Linked DNA regions of Homo sapiens: region 1 is linked to region 2. The links are contacts of gene promoters, found by promoter capture Hi-C in human tissues and cell types (Jung and others, 2019). All regions are on one chromosome and are shown on one strand. Each heading gives the region's core, a stretch centred on a gene start or on the middle of the fragment in contact. The rest is flanking DNA. Distances are from core to core; before and after follow the strand shown. Region 1 overlaps KMT2C (lysine methyltransferase 2C). Region 2 holds the start of KMT2C (lysine methyltransferase 2C).

Evidence for each region. Contacts are between HindIII fragments. The study calls those that stand out against the background at their distance.
Region 1: a fragment that was not itself captured here is called in contact with the fragment with the promoter of KMT2C in region 2 in 2 of the 25 tissues and cell types used here (H1 embryonic stem cells and neural progenitor cells).

Annotation. Positions count from the first base shown.
Region 1 is chr7:152,358,656-152,363,323 of GRCh38, reverse strand. It overlaps KMT2C (lysine methyltransferase 2C), which reads left to right. Exons shown (of 59, transcript NM_170606.3): 2 at 4,649-4,668. Among named protein-coding and RNA genes, the nearest start is that of KMT2C, 75 kb to the left of the region's middle. The HindIII fragment of the contact is 6,489 bases long and covers 174-4,668 here.
Region 2 is chr7:152,434,705-152,439,418 of GRCh38, reverse strand. KMT2C (lysine methyltransferase 2C) reads left to right here and starts at 3,416. Exons shown (of 59, transcript NM_170606.3): 1 at 3,416-3,793. The coding sequence starts at 3,633. It also overlaps the pseudogene FABP5P3. RefSeq lists silencers at 2,400-2,739, 2,780-3,069, 3,160-3,209, 3,590-3,649 and enhancers at 4,130-4,359, 4,400-4,449. The HindIII fragment of the contact is 14,314 bases long and covers 1-4,714 here.

The DNA.
Region 1 (4,668 bases), core at 2,169-4,668, 76 kb after region 2:
TTCTTGGTAATAAAGTGAAGTGAAGAACACTGAAATGAAAGGGTTAAGAGACAGGAAAAAGAGGGGAACGAAGAAAACCCAAAGAAGGGTTAAAATAAATAATCTTCATGTTGTCATTTGTAATTAGACTTCAAACTTTCCTTAAAAACTGAAACTGGAAATATCTGACTCAATATGGAAATATAAAACATGTATCTATTTTGCTGTTTAAATATGAAAGTTGGCAACTGATAGGGTTTTGAAGAGTATGACCATTATCTTTGCATTCAGAATATAGTGTTTGATTAGTCAGAAAAGTCACATGGCAGAAGCCAATGAGCAGCAATAAGGACACCGATGAAATAAAAGAATTCGAAAATGACATGATGTCAATAAGTTGGTCCATTGCCCAGAAGGAAAGGAATTCTGATGAATTGATCAACGTAAAAAGCATGTCTTCCTAGTGCCAAAACCAAGAATAGAAATCAGAAGAAAAATTTGAAAAGCAAAAATTAAAATCAAAATTATTTTTTAAGGAGTAAGTAGGGCAATGCAGATAACTGATATGTTGATAGAGATTATAAACTAGACAGAACGAGCTTGAAATAAAGCCAGTTGTGCCAAAACAAACAACAGCATAGACAGTGATGGTCAAGATAGTGGAGAAAAAACTCAAAGTAGAGCAAAACATGGGTCTGAGAGATTAAGTTAAAAAGTCAGCTAAACCATACGGTTTCCAATTTCTTTAAAAGTGGATGTTTATGATTATGAAAAATCACAAAAGAAAGATGAAAAGTAAACTCTACCTCCATAATGGCATGTGAATTATTTTGTCATTCTCTATTTTCTTTGAAGCAGCCATGTTGGGATTGTTTCGAGGATTTCTAGTCTCCCAGTCCCCAGTTCTTGTATTGGTCTACAGGTTTCTAAACAAAAAGTGATCCTATTAAAAAAAAATTCTTAGACCTCATGCCTTCTTACCCCCTACCGCTGACTCTGCCCCAGCCACCGTATATCCTTCTTGTCCCTCTAACCCCCCTCACTTGCTCTCATCTCAAGAATTTTGCATTTGCTGTTACTTCTACTGCAATGCTTTTCTCCCAGATATCTGTATGGTTTGCTTCATCTTCAGTTCTGTGCTAAAGTGGCTCCTTACAAAATTTTATTTTAAAACATTTATTTTATAAATCTGTTATTTAAAATAGCTAGTCCCTTTTTCTTTGCTTTCTTTTGTTGGATGTTGTATGTGTAATACTTGTTTACTGTTGTCTCTTCTCACTAGAATGTAGTTTTGTGACAGGAGGGATTTTGTTTTATTTATTTCTGTATCCACTGTGTTTGAACAGAGTCAGACACAAAGGAAGATTGATAGAGTAATCTAGTAATGCTTGCTCAATGTGTTGTCCAAATACTTGTTTAAAATGCTTCAAACTATAATGTTTCATCTATCAGTTTCCGACAGTGGGATGTTAATATCTCTCTAATGATTAGTTACCAATTTCTCTTTGTTCTGTAAATGTTTGCTTTATGTAATCTGAAGTTCTCTTATGTTATCCAAGTAAATTAATTTTTTTATCATTATGACAGTTTAAGCCATTTATGTTTACTGTGAAAATTCATATTTATATTTATCTTTTTATGTTATTTTCTATGTACCATTTGTTTTCATTCCTTTTCTGCCTGCTGTTGGATTGATCAAATTTTCTTATCCCTTCTTTCCACTTTATTTTAATGTTTTCTATCAAATTTAAAAACAACTACTTAATAAATTCTTTTTTTTTGAGACGGAGTTTCTCTCTTGTTGCCCAGGCTGGAGTGCAATGGTGTGATCTCAGCTCACCGCAACCTCTGCCTCCCGGGTTCACGCCATTCTCCTGCCTCAGCCTCCCGAGTAGCTGGGACTACAGGCGCCCACTACCACGCCCGGCTAATTTTTTTGTATATTTTTAGTAGAGACGGGGTTTCACCGTGTTAGCCAGGATGGTCTCGATCTCCTGACCTCGTGATCCACCCACCTCAGCCTCCCAAAGTGCTGGGATTACAGGCGTGAGCCACCGTGCCCAGCCTAAAAACAACTACTTAATAAATTCTAAAGATGTTCTTTCTTTTTGTCCATGAACAATAAGATCCACCTTAGAGTGTTTTCTCCCTAATTCACCCTTTTTCATCTTTCAGGTTTTGTAGTCTTTTTATTTAGTTCTGCCTTCTTTCCCCTTTCCCCCTGTGAAGTTTGAAGTGATGCTATTTTGACTGCTTGACTTGTTATGTAACATTAACAAATTTCTAATGTTGAATCATCCTGGCATTCTGATTATATTCAATAGGATTGTTCTCAGTTTTTATTTTCATTCATAGTTTTTGACAATGTTTGTTGGAATTCTGAGTCAGGTACTTCCTTTTTTTTATTTTTGGTTAAGACCGACTTTTTGATAGTTTTTAGTAGTTTAATTATAAAACCATTTAGGCTTTGATTACTTCAATTTTTTTTTCTTTTTGAGATAGAATTTCGCCCTTGTTGCCCAGGCTGGAGTGCAGTGGTGCAATCTCGGCTCACCGCAACTTCTGCCTCCCAGGTTCAAGCAATTCTCCTGCCTTAGCCTCTCGAGTAGCTGGGATTACAGGCATGTGCCACCATGCCCAGCTAATTTTTCTTTTTGTTTTTGTATTTTTTTTAGTAGTGACGGGGTTTCTCCATGTTGGTCAGGCTGGTCTCGAACTCCCTACCTCAGGTGATCTGCCTGCCTCGGCCTCTCAGAGTGCTGGGATTACAGGTGTGAGCCACTACGCCCGGCTGGTCACCTTAATTTTTAATATATTATTATGTTATAGCTCCTTCATGGTTTAGGTTGGTTAACTTTTTTTTTTTGAGACAGAGTTTCACTCTTGTTGCCCAGGCTGGAGTGCAATGGTGTGATCTCGGCTCACTGCACCTCCTGCCCACTGGGTTCAAGCGATTCTCCTGCCTCAGCCTCCTGAGTAGCTGGGATTACAGATGTGCATCAACACGTCCAGCTAATTTTTGTATTTTTAGTAGAGACGAGGTTTCGCCACGTAGGCCAGGCTGGTCTTGAACTCCTGACCTCAGGTGATCCACCCACCTCGGCCTCCCAAAGTACTAGGATTACAGGCGTGAGTTACTGTGCCTGGCCTAGGTTGGTTAACTTTTTTATGAGAACAAGACTTAAATGGATTTCTTATTGTTTAAAACATAGTTCTTTGTTTTATTCTTTTTTCATATTATTCTTTTATTTCATATTGTCCCCCCCCCCCCACCCCCCTTTTTTTTGTTTGTGTGTTTGAGACAGTCTCACTCTGTCGCCCAGGCTGGAGTGCAGTGGCATGATATCAGCTCACTGCAACCTCCATCTGTCAGGTTCAAGCGATTCTTGTGCCTCAGCCTCCCAAGTAGCTGGGATTACAGGCACACGCCACAACACCTGGCTAATTTTTGTATTTTTAGTAGAGACGGAGTTTCACCATGTTGGCCAGGCTGTTCGTGACCTCCTGACCTCAGGTGATATATCTGCCTCAGCCTCCCAAAGTGCTGGGATTACAGATGTGAGCCACCACAGCCAGCTGTTTTTCACTTTTTAAATGTTTTATGTTTTTCAATTAAATACTGAGTTGATTTGTATTTTTTCTTTCTATTTCCTCCCTCCCTCCCTTCTTTGTTTTTTTTCTTTAGCTGGAATTACTGGCACGCCACCATGTTTGCCTAATTTTTGAATTTTTTTTTTGGTAGAGATGGGGTTTCGCCATGATGGCCAGGCTGGTCTTGAACTCTTGCACTCAAATGATCCATCTAACTCGACCCTCCAAAGTGCTGGGGTTACAGGTGTGAGCCACCTTACCCAGCCTTTTTCTTTTAAAGAGTTTAAAATACTGCGAAATAATTTAAAACACTGACATTATCTGAGTACTGCTTTGTCAGTTTCCAAGTTTTTATGTGTAATATCTTGTTGCTCTTATGTGTTATTAATTTTTCTTTTACTCATTTCTATACCGTATTTAGTACAATTCAAAGAATTTAAAGGCATTAGTTTTTTTTTTTTTTTTCAATTGCTTTCTGTCAGGAATTTCACCTTGCTGTGACTCTTACCTTTATTTTACTTTCCTGAAGTGTTTATAAATTAAATTTTATTATGCTTGTAAGGTGGACATGATTATAATCGTGCTTAATTTTTAAAATTTTGTTTTTTAGTCATCTGCATCACAGTCACCAAAAGCACCTTTTACAAAGCTTTTAAAAATACATATATCTGGTCATTTCACATCAACTTTATTAAATATAGAAGTTAAACCTGGTATGTGAACTTTGTGAAGAACCCATTATGTAGTTAAAAGCCACTACTGTAGACAGAGGGAGACTTCAGAAGGTTACCTAAAAAAGGGGCAAAACCAGAGTGAGGAATACTTAAGTGAATTATGAGGACACAATTATATTCATGTGGGTCTGTCCTCACATTTAGAGTATAAGGAAGTGCTGGATTTAAGGGAGAAAATGACTGTAAACTCTGATATTTTCTACTTGATATGGTAAAATGCTGGAAAAATGCCCTAATTACTTATTTTGTATACCTTCAAATTGTGCCTTATGTTGAATATAAGTCTAAGCCTTAAAATTTAACATTTAACTCTATGTACTTATTATTTTTTTTTTTTTCTGTAGACCTCGAAGTAGGGGGAAAA
Region 2 (4,714 bases), core at 2,167-4,666:
GGTCTCGATCTCCTGACCTCATGATCCGCCTGCCTTGGCCTCCCAAAGTGCTGGGATTACAGGTGTGAGCCACCGCGCCCAGCCAGGCCTGGTTAATTTTCTTTGGTATTTTTTTGTAGAGACGGAGGTCTCACTATGTTGCCCAGGCTGGTCTCGAACTCCTGAGCTCAAGTGATCCACCCGCCTTGGCCTTCCAAAGTGCTAGGATTACAGGCATGAGCCACAGTGCCCAGCCTACAGTGCAACTTTAATAATAACAATATGAACACAAAAATTCTAAGATCTAAAATTTAAGCTTTCAGTGGTCCTTCTATAACAGTGAAAGTTTGGTTCCTAAAAAGCCCTGAGGAATTTATGGGAAAACAAGAGAGACAACATTTAGTAGTGAACCTGTGCATTCTAAATAAAGACAATCACATGTTATAGGCCTTCAATTAGTAAGAATGAATATTGGACTATGAATTTTTATTCACTGTCACTTGTTTGCTAGATGCTTTGAGAATCTTCCTTGCCTATATTTTTCTGAGATGTTGGTTTTTCTTTGTCAAAGATAACAATGCTCATTCCCTCCCCATTAAAAACTACATATATATATATATATATATGATTAGATGATTACTACATGTGCTTTGAAATATTCAAATATTTTAGACAGTAAAAGTCCCTTGTAATTCACCCCTTTGCAGATGATTGGTTAACAGGTTAGTACACATCTACCTAAATTTAAAATCCCATATTTAACATGTATACTTATTAGAAAGTACACATTCTAATATTTTTCTGTTGTATTTGGTACTGTTTCCAGATGCTCCTGCCTTTTTGCTTTCATAATTTTGAAGGACCTCAGCTCCCTGCCTCCTAGATTTTTGCTACTGTGGTCTCAGAGCTGTGTAATTTGGATGACTGAGACGGAAAAACCTCTGGAAAACCTTTATTTATGTTGAATAAGTATTCCTTGAATCCTTCCTCAGCATCCTGGGTTATATTTGATTTGCTCTGTTCATGATAACTTCATGCCAAGGAGACTGCTATCAGCTCTCTTAAAACAGATCCCAACTCCCTGCTCATAGTGGCCAAAGGAATGGAGATTTCAGGCTGAGTTTACTTACCTGCATCATCATCTATCCAGAAGCATCCCTGCACAAACCTCTGTTTCTACCCTTCCATTCACTCGGCTCACTTTTCTGCTCTTAGTACCCTTTGTTTCTTGTGAACTCTCCAGCAGGAGTGACTTGCAATTTGTATCCACTGACACTTAAGTTCTCAGAAGTGCTGGAGAAGCGTATGGAAGTAAATTATCCTGATGTATAATTTTGTACATGTGAAACTCACCGTGGAAGTGCCTATTCTAATTTCAGTACGGAACACAGCTAAATATTTGGATCAATAATCCAGTTTTGAAAGCACACTTTATTTAAAGTACAATGTGCTGAAGAAAATGAAAAAAGAAAGGGTGCTTTCAAATTTGTACTGAGTAAACTTTCACTAGATCACATCATATGTTTATCACTAGTCACATATATGTTGTATTTCTATGTGTAATCGTCAGGCACTTTTAATTTCTAGTTTGCATTTACCATGCCAGCCTCCTCCTCAATCCCAAATTTCCTTTGGTTATAAATTTAGTAAATTTGAAAGAGCCAGCAGGGATTAAACCCTGAAGGTATTCAAATGACTATCTGACGTTATTCCTCATTTCAGCCATTTCAAAAAATTATGCTTTCATTTAGAATAGGCTCTGGGAATCAAAGTGTGTGTATTTTGCCCAAGTAGAAGACACAGTTTAAAGTTAACATCCTAGCTACTAGAAGGGAAAGCAAACATCGCTGGAAAAGGAGCCTATTTTTTTTTACCTTACACTAAAACTACACTGCGAAGATCAAAAGAAATCAACATGAGAGTGTGCCTCTTAACGCTAGGCCCAAAGTAGATGCTTATTAAATGATAGTTTACCCCAATCCTTCACAAATGGTTGATAGGTCTTACTATTTCCCCCCATTCAAATCTAGAATTTTTTCACTCTCATAAACTAATCGATAGTGAATGGAAAGCACAGAATAGATCATCGTCCAAGTGTTAGGTATTAGCCTGAGAAATCCAGAATCCCATATTTGTAACTGTCCTTCTTGAGAAAGTGCATTTTTCAGGCGGATTCTAGCCCCATTTTTCTTTTTACCATTTTTACATATTATGAGAGGTGGCTTAGAAGTACTTCGATTTTTGCCTCTTCATCACAACACACTGAACGTTAAAATCAAGTGGTTGGGTTTTTATTGGCTTATTTTGTCTCTAACCGTTTTATTTCTCGAGCTGTCATCGTTCTTTTCGTCTTACATCCTTATGAACCTTTTCTGGATTAAAAAAAATGACGTTATAATAAGGAAACTAACTGGCGTTGGATTCGAACGAAGTTGACTCCATTCCTTTTCCTCCCCGTAGTGTGGGCGCTACGAGGAAAGACCTCGGCGAGAACCAGCGAAGCCCGGGCTGCCCTCGCCGTGCGGGCGCACATTTGCTCCTCGCGCCGGGCTGCGCCGGGCGACCGCGGCCGCCTCGGCGTGTGTCCGCGGCTCCCTCCCGCCCTCGCCCGCAGTTCCCCGATCCCGATCCCGGATCTCTGGGTCCACAGCTTGGCTACCTCCCGAGCCGGAGCCGGAGCCGGAGCCGGAGTCGCGGCTGGGCCCGGCCGCCGCGTCACAGGGGGAGGGAACCCGGGGGGGAGGGGGAGGGGCGGTGAGGTCAGCGGCGGCGGCGCGTCCGCGGGCGGCGGGAGCGGCGCATGCGCGGAGCGAGGCCCGTGAGTGGCAGCGGCGGCGCGCGGGGGGCGGGCGAGGGGCCGAGTGTGGGGGAGCGGGCGGGGGCCGTCGAGGCGGCGGTGTGTGGGCGCGACGGCTGCGAGTTGGAGAGGTCTGTGGTGCGGGTCGCCCCGGGGGATCCCCGGCGCGGGCCTCGCGCGACGGCCACGGTCGCGCGGCGTGTGTGTGGGGTCCAAGCACACCCGCAAAACTTCCTCCTCCCCTGCTCCGGGAGAGCGAGCGAGCGTGTGTGAGAGAGCGAGTGTGAGGAGCGAGCCGCGGCCCGGCGCCCAGCGCCGCCACTGGAGCAGCTGTCAAAACTTCGCCGCCGCCGCCGCCCGGGCCTGACGGGCCTGACGCGCGGGGGAGGGGCGGCCGGCCGGGGGCGCGACCCCCTCGCCGCCCCCGCCGGGCCCCGCGGCCGGCCCTCCCCGCGCCGGGCCCCTTTCTCCTCCTGCCGCGGGCGGCTCGGGGGAGGGGCCGCGGGCGGAGACCCCGGGGGCCGGCGCCCCTCACGCCGCCCGCCCGCCCGGCTGCCCCGCCCGCCCGCACCCGCCGGCCCCGCCCGCCCCGCACCGCCCGCCCCGCCCGCCGCCCCCCGCCCGGCCCCTGCGCGCGGAGGTGCGCGCGCCCGCGCCGATGTGTGTGAGTGCGTGTCCTGCTCGCTCCATGTTGCCGCCTCTCCCGGTACCTGCTGCTGCTCCCGGGGCTGCGGGAAATGCGAGAGGCTGAGCCGGGGAGGAGGAACCCGAGCAGCAGCGGCGGCGGCGGCGGCCGCGGCGGCGGGAGCCCCCCAGGAGGAGGACCGGGATCCATGTGTCTTTCCTGGTGACTAGGATGTCGTCGGAGGAGGACAAGAGCGTGGAGCAGCCGCAGCCGCCGCCACCACCCCCCGAGGAGCCTGGAGCCCCGGCCCCGAGCCCCGCAGCCGCAGACAAAAGACCTCGGGGCCGGCCTCGCAAAGATGGCGCTTCCCCTTTCCAGAGAGCCAGAAAGAAGTAAGTTGAGTGCGAGGGAGCCAGGCCGGGAGCCAGCGGCGGCGCCGGGCCGGAGCTGTCACCGGGCGCCCGCCCCGCGGCCTCCGCGCCCCGGCGCCCCCCGGCGGGGTGGGGGCGGGGCGGGCCCGCGGGCGGTGGCGGCTCCCGGCCCCGGCCCCGCGCCCCTCGGTAGCCGCCCGCGCCCGGCCTCCCCCGCTCCGCGCCGCCCGCCCGGGCTCCCGCCGGCGCCCGGCTCCGCACACTTTACTTTTCAGTCGGGCCTTTTCACTGGGTCTTCTCCGCGACTCTTCTTTTGGAGAAATTTCTCGTAGCCGCGTCTTGGCCTAGCTGGATCATTGAGAAAACAAGCCCGGAGCGCGCCCAGGTAGTCCCCGGACGGACTCCGGGCGAACCGCCGAGCCGTCGGCGCTCGGGAAACTCTCGGAGCTGTCAAAACGCCCGGGCCAGGTGGTCTCGGGGCGCGGGCTGGGGGCGAGAAGAAAGCGGCCGGGCGAGTGCAGCTTTTGTTTGTCAGCGACTTGCTCCTGGAACTTTTCCTGGTCCCAAACCTGTGTTTTCTTCTTTTGATGATATATTAGGAAGCCATTTGACTTCTTCCTCCCCCCTCCCCCAACACCCAGCACCGCACTCCCGGGCTCCGAAAGCACAAGTCCTGTGGGATCCCCCAGCTTCGGGGAACGGCCTGCCTAAGTTTTGGAGACGTAGCCAGCGTCCCCTCGTAAGGCAGAATACCAAGAGCACTTATTCGGAGAGAGTGCAGATGTAAATGTCGCTTCCCTCGTAAGTCTTAGCTGTAAGGGGCTTGGGAATAGGGTCGCCTGCCTTTGAGCGTACAGTAGGGCTGGACCCCAGCTTATTAGAGGACCAGAAATGTCTTCTTACAGAACGGTTATTTGACGGCTTTGCTTGTAAATTAAGACA